Regions from separate parts of the Homo sapiens genome. Here all the other regions are linked to region 1. Evidence: promoter capture Hi-C in 16 types of primary human blood cells and fetal thymus (Javierre and others, 2016). All regions are on one chromosome and are shown on one strand. Each heading gives the region's core, a stretch centred on a gene start or on the middle of the fragment in contact. The rest is flanking DNA. Distances are from core to core; before and after follow the strand shown. Region 1 holds the start of TRNT1 (tRNA nucleotidyl transferase 1). Region 2 has its middle 5.2 kb from the start of SETMAR. Region 3 has its middle 25 kb from the start of SETMAR.

What was found. The method cuts DNA at HindIII sites, captures the fragments that hold promoters and counts their contacts. A CHiCAGO score of 5 or more calls a contact.
Region 2: a contact is called between a fragment that was not itself captured here and the fragment with the promoter of TRNT1 in region 1, in 1 of 17 cell types (naive B cells). The highest score is 8.9, in naive B cells.
Region 3: a fragment that was not itself captured here is called in contact with the fragment with the promoter of TRNT1 in region 1 in 1 of 17 cell types (fetal thymus); the score reaches 5.8 in fetal thymus.

What each region holds. Positions count from the first base shown.
Region 1 is chr3:3,125,524-3,128,189 of GRCh38, forward strand. TRNT1 (tRNA nucleotidyl transferase 1) reads left to right here and starts at 1,417. Exons shown (of 8, transcript NM_182916.3): 1 at 1,417-1,467. LOC124909339 (a long non-coding RNA gene) reads right to left here and starts at 1,308. Exons shown (of 2, transcript XR_007095786.1): 1 at 1,037-1,308. RefSeq lists a silencer at 1,121-1,540 and enhancers at 1,748-2,478, 1,901-1,980. The HindIII fragment of the contact is 15,170 bases long and covers 1-2,666 here.
Region 2 is chr3:4,296,844-4,299,509 of GRCh38, forward strand. It overlaps a transcript of SUMF1 not described here. Among named protein-coding and RNA genes, the nearest start is that of SETMAR, 5.2 kb to the right of the region's middle. The HindIII fragment of the contact is 1,084 bases long and covers 769-1,852 here.
Region 3 is chr3:4,277,247-4,279,912 of GRCh38, forward strand. It overlaps a transcript of SUMF1 not described here. Among named protein-coding and RNA genes, the nearest start is that of SETMAR, 25 kb to the right of the region's middle. The HindIII fragment of the contact is 183 bases long and covers 1,276-1,458 here.

The sequences.
Region 1 (2,666 bases), core at 167-2,666:
GAATCTATTCTAGGTGGGTACAGCAATGGAGGCTTTGGTCCAGTTTGTCTAGGGTCATGGTGGTGAGAAATAGCAGACAAGCCTGAAAGGATGATTTGGGGCTTTCCTTGCCCCAAAGAGAGAGAGAGACAGAAAATCCTTGCACCGGATGATATCAATGCTGTGCCTCTGAATGTCCATTTGGAAAGCCAGTCCTGTGCTTCCAAAAACAGGATATTCAACACCTTGAAGAGGTGTGGTAATTGCACATCTTACTTTTTACGTTTTAGGAAGTCTACAGAGAGTGGGGCTGAAAAGTTTGGGAAGAACAGGTAGGCATGTGGGGAGGGCAAAAGAACAGAAATAACATGCACAAGCATTTTTCTAGGAAAATTTTAGGGAAAGCTAAGTGATGTAAAGTTACACTTAAAAGACTACACATTTTCGGCCGGGCGCAGTGGCCGAATCCCGGCAAAAGTAATCCCGGCACTTTTGGGGGCCGAGGCCTGGGGAACACGAGGTCAGGAGTTCGAGACCAGTTGGCCAACACGGCAAAACCCCGTCTCTACTAAAAATTAGCCGGGCGTGGTGGCAGACACCTGTAATCCCAGCTACTCGGGAGGCCGAGGCAGGAGCATCGCTTGAAACCGGAAGGCGGAGGTTGCAGCGAGCCCAGATCGCGCCACCGCACTCCAGCCTGGGCGACAAGAGCGAAACTCCGTCTCAAAAACAAAACAAAACAAAAACTACACATTTTCGCACTTTAAGGGCTCAACGGCTGTATTCCCACTCCTTTGCCACTCTCTTTGCTCTTTTCCGCTCTAGAAAGAATTAATGAACTGGATCAAATCTAAGTTCTCCACGTTACAGATGGGAAGCCTCCGGGCCAAGGAGGCCAATGGTTACACAAACCAGGTAAGAAAATAAAATATGCCCAGTAAGTTCATAGGACCGGCGGGCTTAGATTTCGAATGCGCGTGACTCTGTCAACTGTGGACTTAACCCTATGCAGAGATTAGAGGAGAGAATAGTCAAACACGGATAAGTTAACATTTACCGAACAGTCCGTCCTACCCTGGGGTAGGTTTTATTAACAGTCTCGTTTTGCAAAGGAAGACAGCTGCCAGTTGTCTCAGATCGCACGGGCATGCCGCGCAGATGGGCTTCTGAGCAGCTCAGGGCCAGCCAGAGGTCTGGCGAGAAGGGCGTAATTAAACGAACCCGCGCCGGTTTCCTCAGGGCCCCCCGGGGCTCCGCTTCGCCCCAGCGGGCCTCGGCGGGGCTGGGAAACCGGCTGAGGTTCGCCTCACGGTGGGGAGGAGCGACGGGAGGCGGAAGCCCTTCGGTCCGGGCCCCGCCCCCGCACTCGCCCTCGCCCCGCCGCGACTTCCCATTCGCCGCCAACCCATGTGCGTTGGTGACGTCACCGCGTTCACCAGCCCGGAAGTGCGCGTGGCGGCGGTGGCGGCTGCGGCAACAGCGGGGCCGGTAAGCGGGCGCGCGCCGCTCAGAGGGGCAGAGTTGGTGGCGTGAGTTGCTGCCCCTTCCTTCCTGCTGTGGGCCAGAGGCGCCACCGCGCCCGGTCCTCGAGGAAGACGGGAGCGGGACGTGGCGAGAGGCCTCCTCAGCAGTGGGCAAAATAGCCCCGACGCGGAGGTCGTGTCCCCGCCACGTTTCCGGCGACCGCAGGCGCGGATTCCTTGGCTTCCCTCAGCACTTTCCCCTCCGCGCGGACGGCCCCGAGACGCTTTTTCACTGGGCCTTGTCGCCAGCACCCGGCGTGGGGGGTGAGACGCGCCTTTTCAGGGCTGGGGTTCCCCAGAGCGTTTTCCTAAGTCGAGGCGGAGGTGCGAGGAAACTGAGTGGGTCTTTCCGCCCCACGTGGCCTGCCGGGAAGCGCGGCTCCTCCACCCGCTTCCGTGGAATGGAATGGTTTTTCTCTGCAGGTTTACACCGGGGTCACTCGAGAGCTGCTGCGGCCTCCTTATGGGCAGGACCCCCGTATGGGGAGAACGAGGATGTGATATGTAGAAGGGAAGGCCGCGGTGTGCCAGAAATCAGAGGAGATTGCAAGATGGCAGGAAAAGAATCAGGAAAATGGGGGCAGCAAAACTAAATTCATGGGAAAATACAATGTCTAGGAGCTATCCCAGGGTCGTGAATCCTCGAGTGCAGGTGGGGAAGTAGGGTGATACCCACCTGTGACCATGACAAGTTTTGGAGACCAGAAACTCGGTTAGAGTTTCTAGAACCCCGCATCCCTCTCATACTGCCTGAAGCCCTGCTCTGGGGAGAGTGTCATCACAGTACCATGTGGCATGCGAGTGTCGTGGTAATGCTCCCCGACCAAACCACCAAACCGAGGGTTGGGCTGCTTATTCTCGCTGCCCAATAATGAGATGCAGATAAACTAGGAAAGAAAGGAGTTTATTTCTGTAACCAGGTACGGGGCGAAGGCGTGGAAAATATCCCAGACCGACTCAGAATTACAGAGCTTTCCAGAGCTTATATACCTTGTAAGTTGTATGTTTATGTGTAAGTGTGCATTGATCTAAAGATACAAGTGATTAACTTCTTACCCATAAGATCTGAGTCCTGAAGACCTTCCTCTGGAGCCTGAGTAAATTTACTTAATCTAAATGGGTCCAGGTGCTGGGGTGATTACCCTTATATTCTCTCCTGCTAAA
Region 2 (2,666 bases), core at 61-2,560, 1.2 Mb after region 1:
AGTAACAGAAACCACTCTGACTTAACCTAAACCCAAAGGAAGAATTTATTATAATAATATAGTTATGTAATGTGAATCGAAAAAGAGACTGAAACCAGAAATAGACAGCTGTCCTCTCTCCTTATCACTCATCTGCTTTATTTTTCTCTTGGAAGACGGACTTTCCCCTGCTTCTCCATCTATATACCAAATAAACCTACCTCTCAGCTCCTGAATTATAAATAATAGTTTTAGCTGTGATTTGGTCTCAGCTCCTGACCAAGAGAACCTAATTGTCCTAGATTGAAAAAGGTGTGCACCTGTAAGCTAAAAACTTGGGCCGAGGCTTTTTAGGAGATCACTGTGTAATATAAACATAACTGTCTGTGAGCCCACCCCGTTAGACGGGCTGGGTGAGGGATGGCATGTTCTCACAAGGGAAATGGTCACCAAATTGGACAGAAATCCCCAAAAGGATCAATTACCATGCTTCTTTTTAAAATGACTTCATGCAACAATCTTTTTTCATGAGAGGATCCAGTGCCTGTACTATGCCTACTTGGTATCTACTGGTGTCAGGTGTTTTGGGTTTGTTTTAGAGAGAAGGTCTCTCTCCGTCGCCCAATCCAGGCTGCAGTACGGTGGCACAATCATAGCTAACTGAAGCCTTGGATTGCTGGGCTCAAGCAATCCTCCCACCTCAGCCTCCCTAGAATTACAGCCACAAGCCACTACACCTGAATTTTTTTTTTTTTTTTTTTTTGAGATGGAGTCTGGCTACGTTGCCCAAGCTTGCCTGGAACTCCTGGCCTTGAGCCATCCTCCATCCTCCTACCTCAGCTTCCCAAGGCACTGGGATTACAGACATAAGCCACTGTGCCTGGCCGTGATAGTTCTTATTAGAAGGCTAAGATGTTTCAAATGCTAACAAATATGTAAGTAATTTCTGCTGACTTTCCTCCTTTCATCACTGGCTACAAAGTACATCCCAGAATATTAAGCTCAGATAATGCTAGTGAAACTTTGATAAAAGAATGGCTTCTGAATACAAAGCCATGCAGAACTTCATAAAAACCCTGAACAAAAAAGCATAAAAACACCCCAATTAAAGACCACTTTTGTTAATAAATGTAAAGCTCAAATAGTCATACCTCATAATTTAGCCAAGGATAACTGAACCTATGAAATGTCAGAGTTTTATTATATTGTATTGTTTTCTTTTTATTTTTTTATTACTGATCAGATTAGTTTCTCTTCTGCCAGTGAAAAATCCAAAAGAAATCTGAATAATCAATGCAATATTCAGTTCCAAAACCTGTTTATGGAAATCTATTAGGGCAATTCATTAATGTCCAGAAATACATTTTTCCCCACCATCTAGCTATAATGGTTTGCAGAACAAATTCTGAAGATCAAGGTTCCTGGTCAATGAAAAGCAGTTGTCTAGAGAAAATAAGACAGGTTTCTAGACCCCGAAAAGATGAAAGACTGACAGCTTGGCATTCTGAAGATTGGTTATATCAGCCTGCAAACATCCTCTCATTATTTTAATCTCATACTCTATAAAATACTTTTGGATCCTCTGCCAGCAAGATAAAAACAAATTAAACCAAAGGGCCAGCATGCACAAAATATCTTATTCTGGAAGCACCACTGCTGACAGCTTCCGAAAAAATAAAATAAAGTGGATCCTTCAAAAAAATTTTCCAAATAGCAGACAGTATTACCAAGAAAGAGTCAAAAACTAAAAATGGCATAACAGCAAATATAGGAGTGTGGTTCTCCTCATGGCTCTTATAATTCTTTTCTCACAACATTCTTACAATTTCTATCACATTCTGTAAGTATATAGTTATTTGTCTGTTACACTGCAAGCTTTTCTAGGGTACCATGTCTTCTTCATGTATACATTCCCCTAATTGGTAAACTGGACCATGCATGTAATCAGTGGTCAAACTTTTCTTAAAATGAATGAACAGCATGTTCTCTGAATATCTGAGAAATTCCCATACTATTCAAAATTCCTGAAGGGTGAAACAAACCTTATCTCCAGCCAATCTGAAATTACTCTTTCCTATCCACATCTTTCTTTTTATTACTTTGCTTCTCCTGTTCCTTCCACCTGGAATGCCTAAATCCTATCCATCATTCATGATCTCCCCTGCTAAAAGTAATCTTTACCAGTTCTAAAGATCCATAGCACTTTACCTAAACCTTCTTATGTTTCTTAATTATACTATAAGCAGCTAATTGTATCATATACATGACTATCTCTTCTTTTAAGGAAGGATAGGTACACAACTATATCTGATAAAATATTTACTAGGCAGCTACCTTAAAATCTATAGCTTCTGAGAGGCAAGGCTTCTAATTCAGGATTCCCCCACACCCTATTAATGGGATATATTCTCCTTGCATTTGAGCCACCCTCTGGGAGAACAAACAGCTCCCAGGCAGCTCTGTGACCTGCTGTGTGGACTGCAAGCACTATTCCCACAGAAGGGGTACACCTGAGGCCTCTCTGCTGGTAGGCTTTGGCTCTTGTCCTATAATCTCAAGTGAAGCTAATGCCAAGTGTGGCCAGTGACAGTCCTGTGAACCCGAATGTTTAGTTGAACCTGAAATGACCCTGTGGTAGATGTTTCAAGTACCATATTATGGGTATTAATGAATTTATACATATCAAA
Region 3 (2,666 bases), core at 117-2,616, 1.2 Mb after region 1:
GAAAAATAAAATTCAAATAAAGAATGAAGACAAAATGAAAATACCCAGGTCTCCTTTCCCAAAAGCCTGGTGTTCTTTCCATTACCTTATCAACATAAATTATAATTACATATAAATAATATGTCTAACATTAAATTAAAAACCACTTACAACTATTTGGATCAAAGGAGAAAGATTACCCAGGACAGTACAAGAAAATGAGGGTCAACTAGAGGAAAACTTAACATCACATAGAGAGATCCAGACCTAATAAGAAGAACAGAGGGAACTGGAGGAAAAGAAGCAGGAGACAGGAAAGACAGGGATGCTATGCAAATTAGTGAGGGAAAATAGACACAGTAGGACCTTGAATTAAACTCAAAATGAAAAACGTTTATAATCTTTACATCTAGGAGGCTCAGAAGAACTGGCATAAATGAGAATGACTTTATATGTTCCATTTCTGGATTACACTTTCTCAATCAGCATAATAATCTGTGGATGGACAGATTGCAACAGACCACTATCAGCAGTGTTAGAGTACCTCCATTAAATAATAGGCCAATAACGAGGTCACCACAGCCTAGGAAGAGCTTCCTCTGGGGTCTCCCATTTCCACAAGTACCTTTAAACAGGGCCCATCCAAAGTTTTAAGGTATTGACGTGGTAATCTAATCATCACTATCATTATCATCAAATTATCATCATCAATTAAAAAAATGTATGCAGTTAAAGTACAGCAGTTATCAAAGGAAAAAATTATGTAGAGAATGTTTGAACTACAAAATGAATTTCTTTTTTCGCTACAACACAAGAGAGGAGTTTGGTCCCAAGTATTTTAACATGTTAATTGAACACCCAGATTTGTTTGGCTGATATTTTTGGCACGTTTATTTTCTTAATATTTCAATAGAACAAAAGGACTGCAACATCTTTTTGGATGGCATATGAGATCAAAGGACAAAAGCAAATTTTAAAACCTTGGAAAAATATTATGGCATGTTCTATAATTTATCAATAATTATCAGTGAAGTAGGTAATAATCTTGATATATTGTACCAACTACCTTATTAATTTGATGAAACTTCTGAATTTTGTTTTCCATTAAAGGAGATCAAATCATAGGACATGCATTAATCTCAAACCTATTACCTTTAATGAAAGGTCATTTAAATTTGGCTATAATTTTAAAGGAGAAATTGTTAGAATTAACTACTGATAAAAAATTGAAGATGAATTTTGAAAATACAGGATGACTTGCTTAATTCTGAGCAAAATTTTAAAAAGAACATCCTAAGCTTGCTAAACTTTTCTAAAAATCTCTTCATATATAACAATCAAATACGTCTATGAGACTGGTTTCTCTACTAGGAGTGTTATTAAAACAGACAACAGAAACCGTTTAGACATACGTTATCTCCCTCAAGTGGCACTGTCATCAGTCGAACCAAGATTAGATAAATTAACAAGCAAAAAGCAAGCTTATTTGTCACATCGATGGCAGTGAGTCTTGATATACATGGTATTCTTTCAAAATGGGTTATAGGTATATAATAAAAGAAACCCCGGGTTCACTTTTAACATTGTATTTATTTATAATGGTGGAACAATAAAAACTTCTAAAAATAATAAAAATTCCCCATAGTAGCTATTCTCAAATTTTTTCATGCCTTTTACATCAGACAAATGATTGAGGATACCAGAGTACCCTTTAAGAACCACTGCTCTGTGTTTATCATCTAGGCTTTGTAGTTTGTATGCATTTCTAATTTTATTTTTATGATAATTTGTGTTTACTGTATTTTACAAAAGTATTGGTCTACAAAGGATTGGAAAATTTTTTTTAAACAAAACAAAACTTGACACTTTTGCCACATGTAGTTTGAGAAGAATTGCTCTAATGCAACCCTGCATGACTAAGTTAGACATTTCTAGTCTAACACCAGCCACTTCATTTGACAGATTATTAGTATTACACTGAAGTACTATATGAAAGTCATGGTAACCTAAAATAGTTCATTAAAAGTCAGATATGTGAAGAAAATCATGTAAATACCTTTAACCTTTTATTGTCAATTTATAATCTCACAATGTAGAAACAAAACAATCAAGGGCCTCTAAGAAGTCATATATGGGTTTTTACTAGCTAAAAGAATGAAAACAGCCTGCATGCCCATCAACAATTAAATACATTATGACACACAATCATACAACAAAATAGTATAAAGCCATGAAGAATGAGGTAGCTTAGTGTGTGCTGATTCACAACTCTCTCCAAGATATACTGGAAAGTAGAGAAGCAAGTTACAAATAGTAGGCGCTATGATCCAACTTATATGAGAACCAATCTGAGGAGATGCCATTGAGCTGGGAATGCATTCTCTGTGGGAGGTGAAGGTTCATCACAGCAGAGCTGGAAGCAATAAATGCAAAAAAAAAATAAAGCCATGTTGTGTTTATACTCTGACAAGAGACTCATAATACGAACCAAGTTACATATGCCACCTCAGCAGGCTGGAAGATAATTTTTTAAATGGAACCACTTTTTCCCAGTTCCTGGCTTTATTTAGGGAACCCATTTCCTAAAATTATCAACTTTAGGATGCATAAAAATTAGTGTACCAGATGGCATACACACCAAAAAACTGCATGTACTATATCTTATGAGACACTTTTTAAAGATTTTT